Regions from separate parts of the Homo sapiens genome. Here all the other regions are linked to region 1. The links are contacts of gene promoters, found by promoter capture Hi-C in human tissues and cell types (Jung and others, 2019). All regions are on one chromosome and are shown on one strand. The core of a region is centred on a gene start or on the middle of the fragment in contact, and the rest is flanking DNA. Distances in the headings are between cores, read along the strand shown.

What was found. Contacts are between HindIII fragments. The study calls those that stand out against the background at their distance.
Region 2: a fragment that was not itself captured here is called in contact with the fragment with the promoter of SH3BGRL2 in region 1 in 3 of the 25 tissues and cell types used here (adrenal gland, dorsolateral prefrontal cortex and mesendoderm cells).
Region 3: a contact is called between a fragment that was not itself captured here and the fragment with the promoter of SH3BGRL2 in region 1, in 1 of the 25 tissues and cell types used here (H1 embryonic stem cells).

What each region holds. Positions count from the first base shown.
Region 1 is chr6:79,629,482-79,632,993 of GRCh38, reverse strand. It overlaps SH3BGRL2 (SH3 domain binding glutamate rich protein like 2), which reads right to left and starts at 1,665. Exons shown (of 4, transcript NM_031469.4): 1 at 1,488-1,665. The coding sequence starts at 1,532. The HindIII fragment of the contact is 5,139 bases long and covers 1-2,231 here.
Region 2 is chr6:79,497,733-79,501,255 of GRCh38, reverse strand. The region is part of intron 3 of LCA5 (lebercilin LCA5); the gene reads left to right. Among named protein-coding and RNA genes, the nearest start is that of LCA5, 38 kb to the left of the region's middle. The HindIII fragment of the contact is 3,539 bases long and covers 162-3,523 here.
Region 3 is chr6:79,437,908-79,440,930 of GRCh38, reverse strand. All of the region lies in intron 5 of LOC100506851 (a long non-coding RNA gene), which reads right to left. Among named protein-coding and RNA genes, the nearest start is that of LCA5, 98 kb to the left of the region's middle. The HindIII fragment of the contact is 6,028 bases long and covers 1-3,023 here.

The sequences.
Region 1 (3,512 bases), core at 416-2,915:
AGGCTTTATCTCTTGTGGAAGGGATAAAAACCATTCCTTCCATAATCAATATAATGCTATTGGGACAATTATTGAAGCATGCAAGTCGGTGGTGAAACCAAGAGCTTTGTAGCATTCTTAGTAAGGAGTGCATTTGAACAAATCTACCCTTGAAACAGTGCCAGTTTGCAAACACATGAAGTGTGGCTTCAGTGGGGAAATCTACAAAAGGCAGGCATGACTAAGCAACCCAAATAGCTAGAAACACCAGAAACTGTCAGAAGTCTGAGGACCCCAACATGACTGCACATAAGTGTAAGTTGGATTTTCCCATCTATTGTTTCTAGTGCAAATGGGGGTGGAGGGGCTTTGTATGATCGTGTTGGTTTCTTTTTAAATAAAAAACTTCAGTGGTGTACAAGGATTTTCAAACAATATTTTATTCCATCCTCCACTCCACCCACTTAAGAAACAAATTTTGGAACAATCTGACTGAGCTACTGGGCAGACAATTGACCAGACCAAATTTAAGCAATCTACAATGCACTTTTTGATGTTACTTGATTATATATGTCACAAAGGAGGCTCTTAAATCTATAGCTGAACTCTTGGTTAAGGAAACCAAGTCTCAATAATCATGTAAAACACATGTGCTATGTCCCTTAGTGGGCTGTCAAATATACTAACTACTGAATTTTCCTTAAATTCTGACATCTCTAGCTATTTAACTTTCCTTTCTTTAAAAAAATTTTTTTTCTCTAAAAAAATTCAAGAACATCCACCAAAGAGAATAGCTAAAAATAATTAAATAGAAAACCACAATTCATAGATCCCCAGGATAAAATTTCCACAGCATTACAGGTGGAAAGAAAATGCGTGCATACACACACATTTACATAAAGATGTAAAAATATTTATGGCACCCTAAGAAAAAAAATGACAGTGAAAGCAAACAATCCTACCACAACAGGACAAACCTAGTTTTACTATTCTCTTTGCGCAGGTATAAAACTAAACAAATGCACTTGCTGGCGGGGAAGGGAGGACAGAGAGCAATTCCCACTTAAACTTGCTTCATTCAGGAGCTAGGGTAACAAACCAAAGCAGCAGAAAAGGCTCCCGTGCAAAACATAACCAGTCTGAAGGTCCCAAATCGGGAAGAACTAAACTAGGGGAAGGGGGATCCCCGAAGCTCTTGAACAACCCGTTCCCCAAATTTCCATGCCACACAACAGGAGCTGGGGGCTTCCCTCGGACTCCATTTTCAGGCCGCGTTGTCTGCCTTTCAGGCCACGCAGGGTGGGCATTTGGGTGAGGCCGGGGTCCCCCACCCACCTTTCCTCCCCGCCCTCTTCATTGTTGTCGGAGTGTGATGGATCACCTGCCGGGCGCGGGCTCCCGCGGGCGGACCGGCTGAGCGCAAGGACGCGCAGTGACGAGCGCCGCGCGCCTCCCGCAGGACCCGCGCCCCGCGACCCCAACCTACTGCCCGCCCCCACCGCGCTCACCGCCACGAAGCCCGAGGAAGAGGCGATGAACACGCGGATGACCATCCTCTCGCTGCGCCCGGGACAGACCCCTTGCCCCCCGGGCTCCGGGCTGGCGTGGACGCAGAGCTGAACCCAGCTACGAGCCGCCGGCAGCCTCTGGGTAAAGCGCTGCCGTCGGGGAAGATCGCTGGGATCTGGCTCCCTCCCGGCGGGTCCGCAGATAAAAGCCCAGCGCCGCCCGGCCGCAGGCTGAAGGGGAAGGAGAGGGAGGAGGAGGGAGCCGGCTGCGGGGCTTGATGGGATTTGTAGTTTCCGTCTCTCCCTGGAGTGGCTGGTGGACTGAGCTCCCCTCCTGACCGCGCTTCTATCCCGAACACGCGCAGGTGGCTGGAGGGGAGCCACAGCCCGGGCAGAAGCTGTGAGGTGGGTTGGCAAGGATCCTGGCTTGATGAGGAAAAAGCAAACTAGGCAAAAGGGCTCGGTTCAAAGTCCAAGCTTGGGTTCTGTATTGTGGTTTATTGGTTTGGAGCATCCACACCCAGAAATGCCAACAGACACGATCGTGCTGCGGGCACACATCGTCTCAGGGCCGCTGGCGTACCGGGCAAACCCCAGCTACCTGAAGCAGGCGGGATCGGCGAGCCGGGTGCTTGGGAGGTGTGGGCGGTGGGGTTGGGCTCGTTTGTTTGTCCAGTAGCACTGGAGATTGCAGAAAGGTGATTCTTTTGGGTAAATGAGAGGTCTTCTCTTGTCTGTACACACTGAAAATTAGAAACCCAGATGGAAGCACAACCAATATTTTATTTTTCTCAGCAAAACTGTAATTGTAGTAGAAAAAAATAAATACCAAACGAAATTGGAATCCTTCTATCAACATTGGAAATCAGGACCCTACCTGCCCCACCCCTCCCTACACAATGGCTTCGCCTCTGTGCACCTAATATTTACAGTTCAGCCAAATCTGTGCCTTTTTCAGAACCGCTGCACATTCCAGCGCAGTTTCCCAGGAGGATGCTGTTAAATAAAAAGCTTCTATATAGTTGCTAATAGTTTAGGAATAGTTTTTTATCAAGTGCTTTCTGTTTGACAAAAGCTCAAGCCTCTCTCTCAGTTTTGTCGAAAGGAACCAGTTTTCCCTGCTGTACTGTATTTACTTTTTTCCTTTCAACACGGGAGTTTAGCAGAGGTCTGGGAACAATGTTAATTAAGAAAAAGTAAGAAATTAGATGATGAGGTCTCTGGCTCTTTGATACATTTCTTGCACAAAGAGCAATCATTATGAAGTATTTTTTAGAACAGTTATGAATATTTCAAATTTATAACCTTTCCTATTGCTTTTCTTAAAGCCATTTCTGTAGTAGGAATCTTTTTAAATTTCCTTCAATAATAGAAGAGACACTCCTAATGGGACTTTATTTCTTCTTCGTGTTTAAAATTTTAAATAGAAGTTTTGCTGTCTTTAGTATCTCTCGGCAAATGTACTTTAATTTTGCTACCATAAATGTGGAAATGCACGTTTATAAAATAGAAAATAATTTTCTTAAAAGTAGATACCGTATTTCCTATATAAATGCAAATCTTTATAAAAGTCAGCATTTTCTTCAGTTTGGAATTATTCAGCTATGAAGATATAGTTAAACTCAAATAATTGGAACTCAGAGCCTACTCTGTGAAAGGTACAAGAATGGATAAAAAGTTGAACGAGTCATTTCTCTGTCAGCAGAGCACCTATTGTCTAGGAAAGAAAAAGACAGATACAGAAATAGTGACAGAACAAGACACACTGTACTAATACAGTGTTGTGTGGATGTAAAGGAAAAAGGTGGCCATAGAAGGTACTTTAAAGATGAGTAGAATTTCTGTCTGCAGATAGGGAGGATGCAGGGTGAGACTATTCAGGGTGTGTGAGGAGAACAGCAAGGAGTTGGTTTTGCTTCAGAAAGGAATATGAGGGAACTAGTAGAGGACAATGCTGAAAAAGTAGGTTTGAATGAATGCCAACAAAGGACTTTCTCACTGGGTTATCTGCTCAGCTCCTTGGGA
Region 2 (3,523 bases), core at 682-3,181, 130 kb after region 1:
TTTGATGGATGACAAGATCAAGATTGATCCCCCTAGGCTCAAAATCTGGCCTAAAATAAGCAAGATAAAGTTTAGTCAGGTTAACTGTTTCACTTCAAAGTTTTTCCATCTATTTTATGCGTACACTATGGGGAGCCCTGGGTTAAAAGTAATTGAAGTTAAAGCGTAATTTTTTAAGTATATGAACCTATAATTGTATGGCCACTTAAAAAATCAGAAGGGAAGAAGTTAACCCACTATGGTGATACCTTTGTCCTAAGAGGTAATAATAACTCTAATTTTATTGGTCAGATCACATCTAATAGCAAGTACCAGATTTTAGGTAACAAACTGACATATGGAGGCAAACAGGATAACCAGGGGGTCAAAAAGCTGACATAAAAGAAACAGTGGAAGAAACACAGAATCATAGAAAATATAAGGAAAAATGTAACTTACTTCATTGTTTAAAGGGCTGTCACATGGAGCAGGAGAAATGGATTTATTTCCTGAGGGCAATACAAACCTAATGAATATTACTAGAAAACTGGTTTCCTCTCATTCAAAAGAGCCTCCTAATAACTGGAATTGTCCAATAATGAAACCAGTATGCTTTGCATTATCAAGCTTTCTGCTTCCTGAAGTATTTGTGCAGATTCAATGTCTACCTTCTAGGAATACTGTAAAAAAGTATTACTGTAAGGTGGACTGGAGACCTGCAGGGTCCTTGCTTACACAAGGATCTGAATCTTTAGAATTGAGCTATAACAACACTGAACAGATGTTAAAACAGCTGACATTGATAGACTTATTTTAACAAATGCAATATTGTTATTTAAATCTATAATCCTTTACTAATTAATAAAAAATAAATGAAGGTAAAATAACTTATCCTTTGTGTTTGCTTGCAAAAATTTTAAATTATGTTAATCCTTTATTTCTTTCCATTAACAAGACAGAATTCTGTGATATGTCCTTTGGAAAAAATGTTAAGTATTTTAAATTTTATTGTATTATTAACGTGTTTGTTTAAAGATGTTTTGAAATTTACAGTAAAAGTGGGGAAAAAAATTACCCAAAGGACTGTAAATCATGCTGCTATAAAGACACATGCACACATATGTTTACTGCGGCACTATTCACAATAGCAAAGACTTGGAACCAACCCAAATGTCCAACAATGGTAGACTGGATTAAGAAAATGTGGCACATATACACCATGGAATACTATGCAGCCATAAAAAATGATGAGTTCATGTCCTTTGTAGGGACATGGATGAAATTGGAAATCATCATTCTCAGTAAACTATCGCAAGAACAAAAAACCAAACACCGCATATTCTCACTCATAGGTGGGAATTGAACAATGAGAACACATGGACACAGGAAGGGGAACATCACACTCTGGGGACTGTTGTGGGGTGGGGGGAGTGGGGGAGGGATAGCATTAGGAGATACACCTAATGCTAAATGACGAGTTAATGGGTGCAGCACACCAGCATGGCACATGTATACATATGTAACTAACCTGCACATTGTGCACATGTACCCTAAAACTTAAAGTATAATAATAATAAAATAAAATTTAAAAAAAAGGAAAAAAAAAAGTGGGGCAAAAATATCCATAGTCCTGCCAGCCGAAGATAACTACTATTTGCATTTTCTTCCTTATTGATTGTTTCTTTAATTTCTTAAAGTACTTCTAATATTTTTTATGAAATATTTTGAATATACAGAAAAAGAATATTTAAAACATTCATGTACCTACTTGATATTTTTCTATTTTTGCTTTAGATCTTATTTTGCTAAAATAAGCTGACATTAAGATCTTAAACTGAAGTTTCCTTGTATCTTTTCTCCAAACATCCTTTTTCTACTCTCCTTGCTCAGAAGTAACTACTCTTTTGAAGTTGTAGGATATATTTTTTCTAAGCATTTTAATTTTTACTTAAACATATTTTAGAAGCTTTTTTTAAATAAGTAGTACATGTATATATATTTTTAATTAGAGAAAAATTAAAAGATAAAATGAAAACATTCTCATTCTTACCACTCAGATGTCACCACTTTTAGTGTCTTAGTATGTATCCTTCTGGATCTTTTTCTGTGAATTTGTGTGTGTATTTATGTGTAAGGAAATTTTCTTCTACTACTGGCTTGCTAGGGTTTTTGTTTTAAATCATGGATTGTTTTGAATGTGAAACTACTCTCGTTCTTTGCTTCTTGGGATAGGTGCTGTTTAGTTGTGATGCAATTTTTACACATTGCTAAATTCCTTTTGCTAATATTTGTTTGAGACTTTTGCAACAATATTCATATTTTGGAATGGTGTACAATTTTATTTTTCCACTATTGACATCAAGATTATAAAAAAATCTCATCAAAAATGACATAGAGTTTTTCCTTTCTGTTCTCTTTTACAGATAATCTGTTTCTTAAAATTTGTTAGATTTCACCACTGAAAACTGGATTTATTCCTCATTTGGGAGTTTGTTTTTGCTTTTTTGGTTTCTTTTTCTACTTAATCTTTTAATTTTTAACAGTGTTTTTAATTTTTAAAAAAAATTCTTCTTAATATTTTAATAGTATTTTTTAGTTTACCATTATTTCTTGCATGTCACCATTGTTCATTATTGTTCCTTCAGGGTTCACTTCCTTTCTTACTGAAATATATGTTTAAGTGAGGGCTTCTGAGTGGCAACACTTTTTAGTAGTTGTCTGAATGTATTTTATCTTCACTCTTCAATGATAATTTTACTGGGTCTTGCTGGATTCCAGGTTGACAGTTATTATCATTTGGAACTTAAGTATTTTTTAGCCCTGGTATTTTTTTTAACATGTTCTCATTGAGTTTAATGGTTTCCTGTTTTGCTCCAAAATATCTAGGGGGGGATAGGATTTTTTAAATTAATATTTTATATGGAAATAATTTCAAGCTTACAGAGAATTGCAAATCTGAAAACAGTACAAAGAACACTCCTATACAGTTTACCCAGATTCGTCTGTTGCTAACATTTTATCCCATTTGTCTTATAATATGCATGCATGCTCTCTCATGTGGTCTCTCTGTCATATGCATATATACACATACTTTTTTTTTTTTTAGCTATTTGAGGGTAACTTGCATACATCATGCTCTTTACCCCTAAATGCATCAGTGTGTATTTTTTCAGAATAGGGATTATGCCCTTTATAGAACCATAGTAAAATTATGGTTATACTATGATTTACACTTATATAATGATTTCCTCTAATCTACTGTCTGTAGTACAGTTTTTGTCAGTTGACTTAATCATATCTTTCTTTTTTTTTTTTTTTTTGAGATGGAGTCTCACTCTGTCGCCCACTCTGGAGTGGCTCACTGCAACCTCCACCTCCCGGGTTCAAGCGATTCTCCTGACTCAGCCTCCTGAGTAGCTGGAATTACAGGTGCGCACCACAACGCCTGGCTAATTTTTGTATTTTTAGTAGAGATGAGGTTTTACCATGTTGGTCGGGCTGGTTTCAAACTCCTGACCTCATGATCTGCCCGCGTCGGCCTCCC
Region 3 (3,023 bases), core at 339-2,838, 190 kb after region 1:
GTATGTAACTACAGCCAGTAAGAATTATTTATGCACTTGCCAGTTCTCTGACCGAGAGAGCACATCTGTTTACTCATACCTTGAATCTGCACTGAACTTGTGATTTTTTTGACAAGTTTAATGCAGCAGAAGTCATATGCTTGGATTTTTGAGCCCAGACATTCAAATGTCATATAGCTTCTGTTTTCACTCAGAGAGGAAACAAGCAGCTATATAAAGAATCCATGTAAAGAGAGAGCATGTGCAGAAAAAGAGGCCCCAGAGTATAAGAGCCTGTGAAGGGAGAGATAGAGAGGATCAGCCAGGTCCCAGCCACTTCAGTCAAACATTAGAGAAATGTGACATGTGAGCAAAGCTATCATGGATTCTCCAGTCAATGCACATGTTGCAGAAATGAGCTTTCCCTTTTGAGCACTGCTTAAATTCCTGAACAGCAGAACTGTGAGAGTTAAATGATGGTTTTAAGCCAACAGTGTGACACAGGTTCACTGTGCACTGGTTACCAACTTGTCTGAATCCAGTGAGATAGAACTGTCACATACAAGTTCCATGAAGCAGGCTTATTACTTACAGATAGGGAGCAAGGGACAATAGAAGCCTAGGATTCACTATGAGCCAGTCCCCTCTCTACAGGGGGCAGAGGGATATCATACACCCATACCTAAGTAAATGTTTTATTTTAAAGAGTCCAGTTTACTCTGCTGGGAATTACCAGCAAAGAAAAGAGAAGGTATTGAGTCCCTAGTAATTGTAGAGTTTACAAAAAGTAAATTGATGATTGCTATTAAATAAATTATGTATCACAAAACAACATCAAATAGTTGAATAAACACAATAACTGAGGAGTGACAGTGAGCAGGAGATTCGTGTCTCTGTTAAATAAAATAAAGATGATTTTTCTTATAAATGGCCTTTTTGGAAAAACTTGATGCAAGTAAACATGGACATTTTTGTCGCTTCTTCCTTGAAACCATGCACATATGCAACTGAGACACAGGCCATGATGCAGGTTAATAATGCAAATTATCAAGCTCATTCTCACTACTGAGAATCATAAAGATGCAGAGAGAACACACATCTTAACCGACTGGAACTTCCTAGCATGGTTTCCGGTTAAATATTCTAGTTAAATAGATAAAAACCTTTGATAAAAAATTATTTCATAAGTTTGTCACTTGTACAAAATAACACACCTATGCCTTCAATATTTCTTACTGATAATCTCTTTTCTTTTCCTCTGCCAATATATCATATTTCAATTTTGACATTTTAAACCCTTTGGTTTGATGAGGGTTTTTTCCACCCTGGAAAAATGTGTGTAGTTGGATTCAAGAAGAGTAAAAGGTTTGTTCTTGAGTACATTGGGAGAAAGGTGATAGTGGTGAGAGATAAGAGGAGAACTACCAGAGGGATATACTGTAGGCAGGTGTGTTTTAGGAAAGAGAACATATGGAGGGTAAGGACTTGGATTCTTTAAAGAAATTATTTATTAATTTCAACTTTTATTTTAGGTTCGGGGGTACATGTGCAGGTTTTTTACATAGGTATATTGTATGATGCTGAGGTTTAGGGTATGAATGATCCCATCACTCAAGCAGTGAGCATAGTACCCAATAGGTAGATTACTAGTGGTCTCTAGTGTCTATTGTTCCCATGTTTATGTCCATGAGTATCCAATGCTTAGCTCCCACAATGCTTAGTTCTCACTTATAAGTAAGAACATGCTGTATTTGGTTTCCTGTTCTTGACTTAATTCACTTAAGAACCTGGATTCTTTAAAGCCACCCCCCATGACCCCACCCAACATGGTCTCTTAGGGCAAGTCGGCATGTACTCTGATATACCCAGACTCGTTTGAAGAGTGCTACTTTACATTATCTTACATTGGGTAATCAAGCTTTTTAATTGTTTATCCACAATGGGTTAATAGCTACTACACTGTCATAGCCTGCAGTGTTGATGTATTCACTTCTGCCCAGGAAGGCGAGAGTATTTTGTGTGATCCTCATTTTTGTGACTTTAAATCAGATGAGACTTCAAATTTACACATTTTCTTCCATTGCTCTGTGCTTTATTACATGGTTAAGTGCTTTAAGATTTATTAAATCCAGGTGTTTTATTTCTCAGTAATCACCAGAACTCACCTGATTTGATTATGCCAATCTGTTATTTTTAAGAATTGTTTTTTTTAAAATATTCTTTCCCAGTTAATATTGTATATGTGGCTTTCTTGATTTAAAAATATATTAAGAAATGTTGTAATTTTATGAAAGATCATGTGAAAAAGTTTACTGAAGCATTTGTTTTCCTTATGCTATTAACAAAGCTTAATAACAAAGAATGTATTCTAGAGTAATATTTGGGGCTATTTCTAAAACACATTTCTTGCAGTGATCTCTACACTTTCCTCATGAATACAAAGCAATGTGTTTCTGTTTTTCTGGGCATAGAAGTGGATAGCACAATGATATAACTCCTTATTCACAACATCATTGCAGCTCCATATTAAAAACATTTTTGCTTAAATAATGAGCATTTTTGCTTATCCATAAAGAACCCACGAGACACAAAAAAATGTTTTTCCCAGATGGTCCTTTTTGCATGAAAATTACTAACCCAGACATCAAAAGCAAACAATAAAGTGTTGAAATATGTAATTTGGGCCAAAACAACAGAGTCTGGAACTTCCACGGGCTTTGTGATTTTAAGAGAACAGCTGGGTGTGTGCAGGCAGTCAGCCCAGCTATGACTCTGAACCTCTGTTGTGTTTCTTTTTCTATACAGTCACTATGGGTACAGTTTCCTTCTTTTGGAAATGGAAGCATGGTTATAATAATTCTTGAACTTGAGAAAGGCATAGGCATTTGCTTACCTTTTATAAAAGGGGTAAATCATTTTTAGTATTTATGGTGTAATCAGTTGTTTTTGTTTGCCTGCTATTCATTTGCGTTTTTGCTGGTAAAATAACCAATATGTTCCTTGGGGAACTACCCCTTTCTCCACAGACTCAGCCATGGTTGTCC